2 separate regions of the Homo sapiens genome follow, and region 2 is linked to region 1. Evidence: promoter capture Hi-C in 16 types of primary human blood cells and fetal thymus (Javierre and others, 2016). All regions are on one chromosome and are shown on one strand. Each heading gives the region's core, a stretch centred on a gene start or on the middle of the fragment in contact. The rest is flanking DNA. Distances are from core to core; before and after follow the strand shown. Region 1 holds the start of ASB14 (ankyrin repeat and SOCS box containing 14). Region 2 overlaps SLMAP (sarcolemma associated protein).

Region 1 (4,967 bases), core at 2,212-4,711:
CGGGATGAACTTTCATAGGAGGCAATGACTGAGGCATAATAGAAATACTTCTATTTGTAAAATGTAATGTGGCCCTTAACAAAATTCTAGGGAAGCTCCCTAACTCTATCTGTCTTCCGCATTAGCCTGTTAGCTTCTTTAGGGCAAGGACTATGTGAGCCTGGATTGCAGTAGGCCCTTAATCAGCGTTGGCTGAACTGAATCAAGCCTGCCTATGACTGAAATGTCACACTATCTCATGGTAAAATTTGATGGCCATTATAGAATGTCAACGATTCTAGCAGAAACTATTTTAAAAAATAGTAAATAAAAATGGTGTCAGTATTAAAAAATATTCACAGTCAGAATGTGTGCTCAGAAATACTATTAGCAGTTAAGTAATGTTTTTATTATTTAAGGCTTTAAATCTCAATTTATGAAACTTATTTTAAAACCTAGCAAATAAGGATTGTCACCTTCCATTCTTTTTTTTTTTTTTTTTTTTTTTGAGATGGAGTCTGTCTCTGTCGCCCAGACTGGAGTGCAGTGGTGCGATCTCAGCTCACTGCAGAGTAGCTGGGACTACAGGTGCCCACCATCACGGCCGGCTAATTTTTTGTATTTTTAGTAGAGATGGGGTTTTACTGTGTTAGCCAGGATGATCTCGATCTCCTGACCTCGTGATCTGCTCGCCTCGGCCTCCCAAAGTGCGGGGATTACAGGCATGAGCCACCACACCCGGCCACCTTCCACTCTAATTATTTAACGAACCCAGGTTGAGGAGAATAAATTCCCTCGGACACTCTGTCCTGTTTACAATTTGGTCAATTACATTATCTTAAACATTTAAACCTGCATTCATAGATTTAGTATTGTGTTAGTTTTCTATAGCTGCTGTAAGAAGTAACCACACACTTAGTGGCTTAAAACAACAATAATAAAACAAATTTATTATCTTACAGTTTAGTAGTTCAGAAATCCAAAACAGTCCTCACCGGACTGAAATCAAGATGTCAGCAGGGCTCTGTTCCTTCTGGAGGCTCTTGGGGAGACTCTATCTCTGCCTTTTCTAGCTTCTAGAAGCCACCCACATTTCTTGGCTGGTGGACTCTCTGCCTCCATCTTCAAAGCCAGCATTGTTGGGCTTAGTCCTTTTAACACTGCCATCTCCCAAGTTGTCTCTCCTGGCTCCCCCTCTTTCACACTTAAAGATCCTGTGTTACACTGGGACCACCTGGGTAATCCAGAGTACACCCCCTATCTAAAAGTCAGCTGATTAGCAGCCATAATTCCATCTGTAGCCTTACTTCTCCTTTGCCATGTAAGGTTCCAGAAATTAGGACATCTTTGGATGGGACCATTACTCCACATGTCACAAGTATGTTCTAGTTTTCTAATTCCTTCAAGTACCTGACTAAATCAGCAAGCCTGCCTAAGTATCATACACTTCCTGCAAATCTAATCAAGTAAATGCATAACCACAGTCAATTTCAGTTTCTCTGAAACATTTCAATACTCTCCTTAGCCCAACTCTCTTATACCTTTCAACCTAAAATTGTAAGTTCAAAGTCAGTTACTCAATTATGCAATTTAAGGTTTTAATCATAAGGTTAATATAACAGATAATCTAATAAGGCTAATTTCTTTACAAAACTTTAAATATTTAAAGATTATTTTAAAAACTAATCCTAAATTGAACACAAAAGTATAGGAATAGTGTGTGGCTAAGAGCACAGACTTTAGAATCAGACTGCCTTGCTCTTCACTTACTAGTTCTGTGACCTTGGGTAAGCCACTTAACTTTTCTGTGCCTCACTTTCCTCCTCTCTAAGTAGGGATAATAATAGGACCTACCTCATAGAGAGGTAATGAGAATTAGAATTTAAAAGTTAGTATTTATGAAGTGCTTAAAATAACATGACACATAGTGATCACTCCATGGTTTGTTACATTTTAAAAATACTATATAGGTTTGATGTACTTCATTGTCTCTATTTAGTTATGAAATCTCTTGGGGTTAAAAGACATTTTTCTAGTTTTACATCCAGCAGGCAAATAGAGATTACCATCCCAAGTAAACTGGGTTATCACCCCTGAAAAAATGATGGTTACTGCCTCAGGAGACCAAGGTTGCTGATTGGCCAGCGAGCGTGTGAGCAGGTGTGCCATATCCAGGACGATTCTTCTTACACCCCACACAGGGTCCCACTGGTCCTTTTTCAGTGTTGTCCAACAAAACTCTGAATCTACACTTTCAGAAGCCTTGTTCAAGTTTATGTAATTCCTCCTTTTGATTTGAGTAGATCAAAGACTGGACCCCATCCCCACCTACCCTACTAAGGTTGAAGATAACTAACTTTCTATGTGTCCCGGTTGGATTTATGCATTTCTTCAATTCCCAAAGACAAGATGTATTAGTTTTTCTCTAGCCCTTCATATCCTCCTTTCTTTCTTCTGATTTCCAGTCTGTATCACCTCACCCAGATTTGCTGCTAACCTCCTTCAGATATTTTTATTGCCTAATTAAATTCTGAATTATTTCCAGATTATTCCTGTCTAGTTAGGCATAATATCTTACAGATATTTAATTGACAGCTCCTTGGATTCTGACCCTCCTGTTTTTGTCACAACACTAGAGTTAAGCTAATGACAAGTGTCAGCTGTTGAATACAACACTTAATACTATATTGCCGATGAGAAAACCATTACCTCTCATCCTTAGGTGCATGTTGTGCTGTTCCTGGCTTATAAATATCCTGCAAACTCTGTTGAATGATGAGCTGGGTGTCAAAGTCTTCATCTATGTCTTCATCGCTGGTGTAATTATCCATGTGAAACGTGGACAGGTTTACTTTAAAGTCAGAGTGAATTAAAAGTATTTTTCCAGTTGTGAAGAGATCAACTGCTTAAAATTACAAATGAAATTCAGAAATCTAGAAAATTGGTAGGATTAACAATGAAAAATATACAAAATTTAGGAAACAAAATATTCACTAAAAAATTTCTATAAACTTAAAAAAGTTTTGTGGACTGCCACAGATTCAACAAAAATTAGAAGTTTCCATGAGTAGCCATTGACTTAAAGCTTATTCAGGAAAAACCACCTTTCAAATAAGACTTCGGTTAGTGCCACTCTAACACTGACAACACTCTGATCTGTTCAACTTGGCTGTGAGTCTTTCACAGTGATTGTAGCACTCATCCAAAATAATATCTTTCCTACACACAGTGTGATGCTGAAAATAATATTTTACTTAATATACATTAAAAATAAACATGTTATAGGAACAAATGTATTCTCATAATTACAACATGGATACAGCAGTAGTAAAAACAAATGTATCTTACTAGGCAATATCTAAATGGTTTTAAAAGAAAAATGTCAGTTTTAGCATAGAATACATTTGGTCACATTTCAAAGACTTTTTACCTTTTGTTTTATCCTCTAGGACAGCAGTGAAGTTTTCACTGTTAAGGACTAACACATGTAAGCCTCAGAATTTTCATTTATATTTAGGCTCTCCTCTCCCCTGTAGTGACCATTCCATTAATAGCTTTACTATAAATACTTCATCATAAGACAGTTTGGCACATTCTCCTTGTTTTTTACATGTGGTTTAGCTCTTTTTGGAAACATGATCTCTTTTCTTCAGTGCTACATTCATCAAATTTAAAGGATTAAATATTTTATTCCTGGAATAAAATGCTTTTGCAGGGGGTTGGCCATGCAAAGAGAATTCATGCACATAGCCACTGCAAACCACAATCAATTTTTCACTTAAGAGAACCCAAACATTTTGCTCTGACCCAATTATCCAAAGTGACTGTCCCAATGTACTAGATTCACTAGGTAGCTGTGACTACATTTTCCTTGGGTTACAGAACTGTGGCCTTCAGTGTCCTTGGAATCCTAAGGGAAGAATTCACTCTACACAAGATAAAATTTTGATCAAAATTCTGTTTTGTTGAAATATTTTTAAATTGTTAATATACACTAAAAAAAGCAAAGGGACCACTTGACATTTCAAATTAAATATGAAGCAAATGCCGAGAAGCACACTGTCACTGCAGGTGTAGAAGTTCGGACTGCCCTCAAGCCATCCTACTGCCTTTGCAGGCCAACTTCGCAGCTTTGAGTTTCCTTTCCTAGTCACAAGGATGCAGTGAGAAATGGAACCGATGTCTTAGAGGTAAGAAATAAAGAGGTATAGTTGGGTAACTTTTAATATTTTCCATATTTATAATTTCTTAATTTATGTATTTGAAATATTTATGTATAATTACTTTAGGTAGGAGAGTGGAAAGTAAACTATACTGAAGCTGAAGGAATGACTTAACATTTGTGAAGGAGATAATTCCTGATATTTGTTAAATGTTACCGTTTAACCCCCAAATCTATTTTTCACATACAATCAAACTTCAAAAAGTTCTCCTCAGAAAGGAGAACAATGCAATGAGTGTTTGCAAAGATCATTTAAAAGAATAACACCAAAACACTTGGTTTTATAATGTATATATTTTAAGTAGGACAGGTTTTTTTTTTTTTAAACTTTTGGATGTTTTATAAATTTGTCCAATTTAGTCATCCAACTGACAAAGCAAAGCAACCCCGCGCTTGATCCAGTGCCGAGTAGGTTGGTCTGTTTTTAACAACATTGCAATGACAAAGTTAGTAGAATGTCCCGTAGTGGAAAGAGTTCCTTTACGTTCACTTGTCTTGTAGAGGGGACAGACATAGGCATCCGACTTTATAATCCGAGATTTTTGAGCTTGAAAAAAAAAAAGAAATATATTCACTTGATAAAGGGAAAAACAGCCATTGGTACGAAAAGAACTATTTATCTTGTAATAAAATGGCCAGAACTAAATCTAAGATCATAATTGTGATATATGAAGGTTTTACAGCATATATATTTTTTTACAGTACATATAGTATTACGGTTGTGAAACAAGGCAAGTATTTCTTTTCTTTTCTTTTTTTTTTTTTT
Region 2 (4,898 bases), core at 797-3,296, 500 kb after region 1:
TTATGTGGGCTTTTTAATTTTTTTTAAAGAAATGTAAAAAGTCTGGGCTACATTATGTTTCCCAGGCTGAACTCAAACTCCTGGATTTGACCGGGTGCGGTGACTCACACCTGTAATCCCAGCACTTTGAGAGGCTAAGCGGGGTGGATTGCTTGAGCTCAGGAGTTGAGACCAGCCTGGGCAACATGGCAAAACCCCATCTCTACCAAAAAATTGCAAAAATCAGCTGAGCGTTGTGGTGCGCACCTGTGGTCCCAGCAACTTGGGAGGCTGAAGTGGGAGGATCACTTGAGTCCAGGAGGCCGAAGTTGCAGTGAGCCAAGATCATGCTACTGCACTCTGCCCAGGTGACACCCTGTCTCAATAAGAAAACCCAAAAAATCCTCTTGAGCTCAAGTGATCCTCCCATGTCAGCCTCCAAGTAGTTAGGACTACAGGCTTACACCCCTACACCCTGTAGGCTTCTTATGTCCTTCCAGTTTTTGAGGTTAATTCTTTTCTTCCCTGAAACTCTAGTTTTAGATCTCAGATATCAATGACTTTTTAAATTCATTAACATTTCATTTCTAGATATGAATTTCTAAAACATGTATGATATTTTATAGATTTCAAAGTGCTGTTGATTCATTTAGCTAACACTGAATACTTCTTGTGTGCTGAGCTCAATTCTATAATTGATAAAAGTTTCTGTCCGTATGGAGCTGACATTCTAGTGTTCAGTATACCATCATCTATCTTTCATCATTACCTCAGCCTATTTAGAACAAATGAGAGTGCTTCTGAAATATTGGCAGCAAATCCAGCATAATTAATTTGTCCTATTAATTTACTGTGTAATAGCAATACTTTCATACATTTCCAGAGTATTCTGGTTAAATTTTAGTTTTGTCCTCAACTACTAGCATTTGGTGAAATCTGCCCATATCTCCTTCAGTTTTATGAATTTAGATAATATATGTACCTTCTTAACCTTGTTCTTTTCTGATGGGTAAACCTTCGCTTATTTTTTAAAGCTGGTGCGGTGACTCATGCCTGTAATCCCAACACTTTGGGAGGTTGAGGTGGGAGGATCACTTCAGCCCAGAAGTTCAAGATCAGCCTGGGCAACAAAGTGAGAACTATCTTTCTTAAAAAAAAAAAAAAAAAAAATCCTGCTGGGTGTGATGGTGTATTCCTGTAGCCCCAGCTACTCAGGACTCTGAGATGGGAGGATCATTTTAGCTCAAGAGGTTAGGACTGCCGTGAGATGTGTTCGAGTTACTGTATTCCAGCCTGGGTAACAGAGAGAGAGAGACCCTTTCTTAAAAACAAAAAAACAGTTTTCTAAAGTCATCAGGAAACTTTTTAGATGAGTCATTCAGTGATTTAGTTTTGGTGGCTGTTCTTTTTATTTTCTCCCTATTCTGAAACTCACTTTCCTAACTTCTTTAGTGTGCATTTTAATAGAACTTTCCAAAATTCTGTTCGTACGCTATACTCTCCTGGTTCTTAATTTTCTGACAGTTTTGGCATTTCTATCTTTGTCTCCATGGTCTGTAGTTACCACAAAGACTTTGTCTTTATCCTTTGGCTTTTACTGTCCTGAGTCTCTTTCAAAAGTCACATACTTACAGTCTTATATTAACACTTATAAGCACTTCGTTTCAAAATTTATGTTTTTTTATGAATTTCTCAACCATTTTAGTTTGTTTTTACTTTTTAAGTGTACACTATAGTGGTCTTTAGTATATTCACAAAATTGCGCATCTATTACCGCTACCTAATTCTAGAACATTTTCATCACTCCCAAAAGAAAGTTTGTATTCATTAGCAGTCACCCCCCCATTTTCTCCTCCCTTCAGACCCTGGCAACCACTAATCTGCTTTCTGTCTCTCTAGATTTGCCTATCTGGACATTTTATATCGATGGAATGATACAACATGTGGTCTTTTGTGTCTGGCTTCTTTCATTTAGCATTTTCAAGCTTCATCTAAGTTCTAGTTTATGTAGGTATTGCATTGCTGGATAAAATTCCATTCTAGAGATAGCTACCACATTTTATTTGTCCATTAATCAGCTGATGGACATTTGAGTTTCTGTTTTCTACTTTCGGCTGTTATGAATAATGTCACTATGAAAGTTTGTGTACAAGCTTTTGTGTGAATTTGTGTTCAGCTGTCTTGGGTACATACCTTGGAATTGAATTGTTAGGTAATATGGTAACTCCGTGTTTAACATCTTGAGGAACTGCCAAAATGTTTTCCAAGGTGCCTATACCATTCCCACCAGGAATTTCTCCACTTCCTGGTCAATACTTCTTAATGTTGGTCTTTTTTGTAGCCATCAGGTGGGTAGGAAATGGTATCTAATGATTTTGATTTGTATTTCTCTAATGACTAATAATCTGATAATCTAATGACTAATAATTGAGCATCATTTCATGTCCTTATCAGACATTTGTATGTATCTTTTTTGGAGAAATATTGATTTATATCCTTTTGAAAAATTGGGGCCGTGCATGGTGGCTCACGCCTGTAATCCCAGCACTGTGGGAAGCTGAGGCGGGCGGATCACGAGTTCAGGAGTTTGAGACCAGCCTGGCCAGCGTCGTGAAACCCCGTCTCTACTAAAAATACAAAAGATTAACTGGGCATGGTGGCGCACACCTGTAGTCCCAGCTATTTGGGAGGCTGAGGCAGGAGAATTGCTTGAGCCTGGCAGGCAGAGGTTGCAGTGAGCTGAGATCACGCCACTGCACTCCAGCCTGGGCAACAGAGAGAGACTGCGTCTCAGAAAAAGAAAAAAAGAAAAGAAAAATTGGATTATCAGTTGTATATTCAGGATATAATTCCTGTATCAGATAAATGATTTGTAAGTATTTTCTCTCATTCTGTGGGTTGTCTTGGTGGTGTTGATTGTGGTAAAATATGCATAACATAAAATGTACCATTTGTACAATTTTAAGTGTACATTTCAGTGGCATTAAGTACATTCACAGTGTTGTGTAACTATAACCTCCATTTCCAGAACTTTTTCATCATCCCAAACAGAAACACTGTACCCATTAAATAATAACTCTCCCTTCCCCCTCCCCCAGCCTCTAGTAACCTCTATTCTACTTTCTGTCTCTAGGACTTTGCCTATTCTAGGTGCTTCAAATAAGTGGAATCATATAGTATTTGTCCTGATAGTATCTTTTAAAGTGTAAATATTTTTAATTTTGATGAAGTCCAATTTATCTATTTTTATTTTTATAAGTAATTTTTAGTAATTAAAACATTTTAAATTCATGTTGTCACTTGTGCCTTTGGTGTCATTTCTAAGAAGCCATTGCCTAATTTAAGGCCATAAACATGTATTTTAACCATTTTGAGTACTCTCTTACTTGGCTCTCCCTTCTATATTTAAAACATCCACCAATATAACTATCAAAGGTTTTATGGGAGGAGTTTTATTAAGTGTTCTGCTCTTTTTTGTTGTTGTTAAGATCAGAATAGTAGTTTTCAAACGGTAGAGTCTTCTGGGATGTTTAGTAAAATAAAAGTCCCTCAGCTGTTTTGTGTATTTGTAATAAACTTCCAGGAGACTTTGCATGATGTGGTTGAAAGAGTGTGGAATTAGGATAGTCTAGCCTGGTAATTAAGAGCATGGATCGTGGAGCCTGACTACCTGGGTGTGAATCGTGGCTGTGTCACTTCCTGGCTGATTTTGGACAAGTCACTTGTTCTCTCTGGACCTTCGTTTCCTCCCTCATAGGATTGTTGCAAGGATTAGCTAGGATATAGCTATAAAGCACTTAGAATATCTGCAAAGCACTTAGAACGATTTGGCAACAGTCACCATATAAGTATTAGCTATTATTATACCCTTTAAGTCACAGTAATGTCATTTCTAGAGACCTAATCTAAGAACATTATCAGAGATGTTACATAAAGATGTGTGTATAACAGTTTCATCACAGAGACTGATTATAAAATTAACCACATATAGTCAGTAGACATATGGTTAAATAAATTAATGAAATGTCATATAACCATTAAGTCACATTGTCAAAAATACTTAATGCCTTGGGATGATATCAGTGAAAATGTCAAAAATGCAACTATATGTAGAATATGTCTCTAAAATTTTTTAAAAATTCAAGGCAAGGGGCTGGATATGGTGGCTCATGTCTGTAATCTCAGCACTTTGGGAGACCGAGGTGAGAGATCACTTGAGGCCAGGAGTTCGAGACCAGCTTGGGCAATGTAGTAGGACCCCCGTCTCTATAATTTTTTTTTTTAAATTAGTCGAGCATGGTGGCATGTGCCTATAGTCCCAGCTACATGGGAGGCTGAAGCAGAAGGATCACTTGAGCCCAGGAGTTGGAGGTTACAGTGAGCTATGATTGTACCACTGCCCTCCAGCCTGGGTGACAGAGTGAGATCCTGTATCTTAAAAAAAAAAAAAAAAAAAAGCCAGGTGTGGTGGCTCACGCCTGTAATCCCAGTACTTTGGGAGGCTGAGGCAGGCGGATCACCTGAGGTCGGGAGTTTGAGACCAGCCTGACCAACATGGAGAAACCTTGTCTCTACTAAAAATACAAAATTAGCCAGGCGTGGTGGTGGGTGCCTGTAATCCCATCTACTTGGGAGCCTGAGGCAGGAGAATCGCTTGAACCCGGGAGGTGGAGGTTGCAGTGAGCTAAGATCGCGCCATTGCACTCCAGCCTGGGCAACAAGAATGAAACTCCATCTCAAAAAAAAAAAAAAAGTACGAGGCAGGAGAGTGGAATGTTAGTCGTGTAATGCATATAAAGCAATATGTTAAACTGTTGATGTGGTTATTCTTGGAAGCTGGGAGGTGTTATTTCAATTTTCTTCTGTACTTTATTATATTCTTCTGATTTCAATAAGTATTTTATACTTGGAAAAACAAA

The links. The method cuts DNA at HindIII sites, captures the fragments that hold promoters and counts their contacts. A CHiCAGO score of 5 or more calls a contact.
Region 2: a contact is called between a fragment that was not itself captured here and the fragment with the promoter of ASB14 in region 1, in 1 of 17 cell types (total B cells). The highest score is 5.3, in total B cells.

What each region holds. Positions count from the first base shown.
Region 1 is chr3:57,289,224-57,294,190 of GRCh38, forward strand. ASB14 (ankyrin repeat and SOCS box containing 14) reads right to left here and starts at 3,462. Exons shown (of 11, transcript NM_001142733.3): 1 at 3,410-3,462; 2 at 2,689-2,881. The coding sequence starts at 2,810. It overlaps DNAH12 (dynein axonemal heavy chain 12), which reads right to left. Exons shown (of 74, transcript NM_001366028.2): 74 at 4,477-4,748. The coding sequence ends at 4,558. It overlaps LOC124909384 (a long non-coding RNA gene), which reads left to right and starts at 3,568. Exons shown (of 2, transcript XR_007095923.1): 1 at 3,568-4,169. The HindIII fragment of the contact is 5,614 bases long and covers 3,063-4,967 here.
Region 2 is chr3:57,792,768-57,797,665 of GRCh38, forward strand. The region is part of intron 2 of SLMAP (sarcolemma associated protein); the gene reads left to right. Among named protein-coding and RNA genes, the nearest start is that of SLMAP, 39 kb to the left of the region's middle. The HindIII fragment of the contact is 168 bases long and covers 1,963-2,130 here.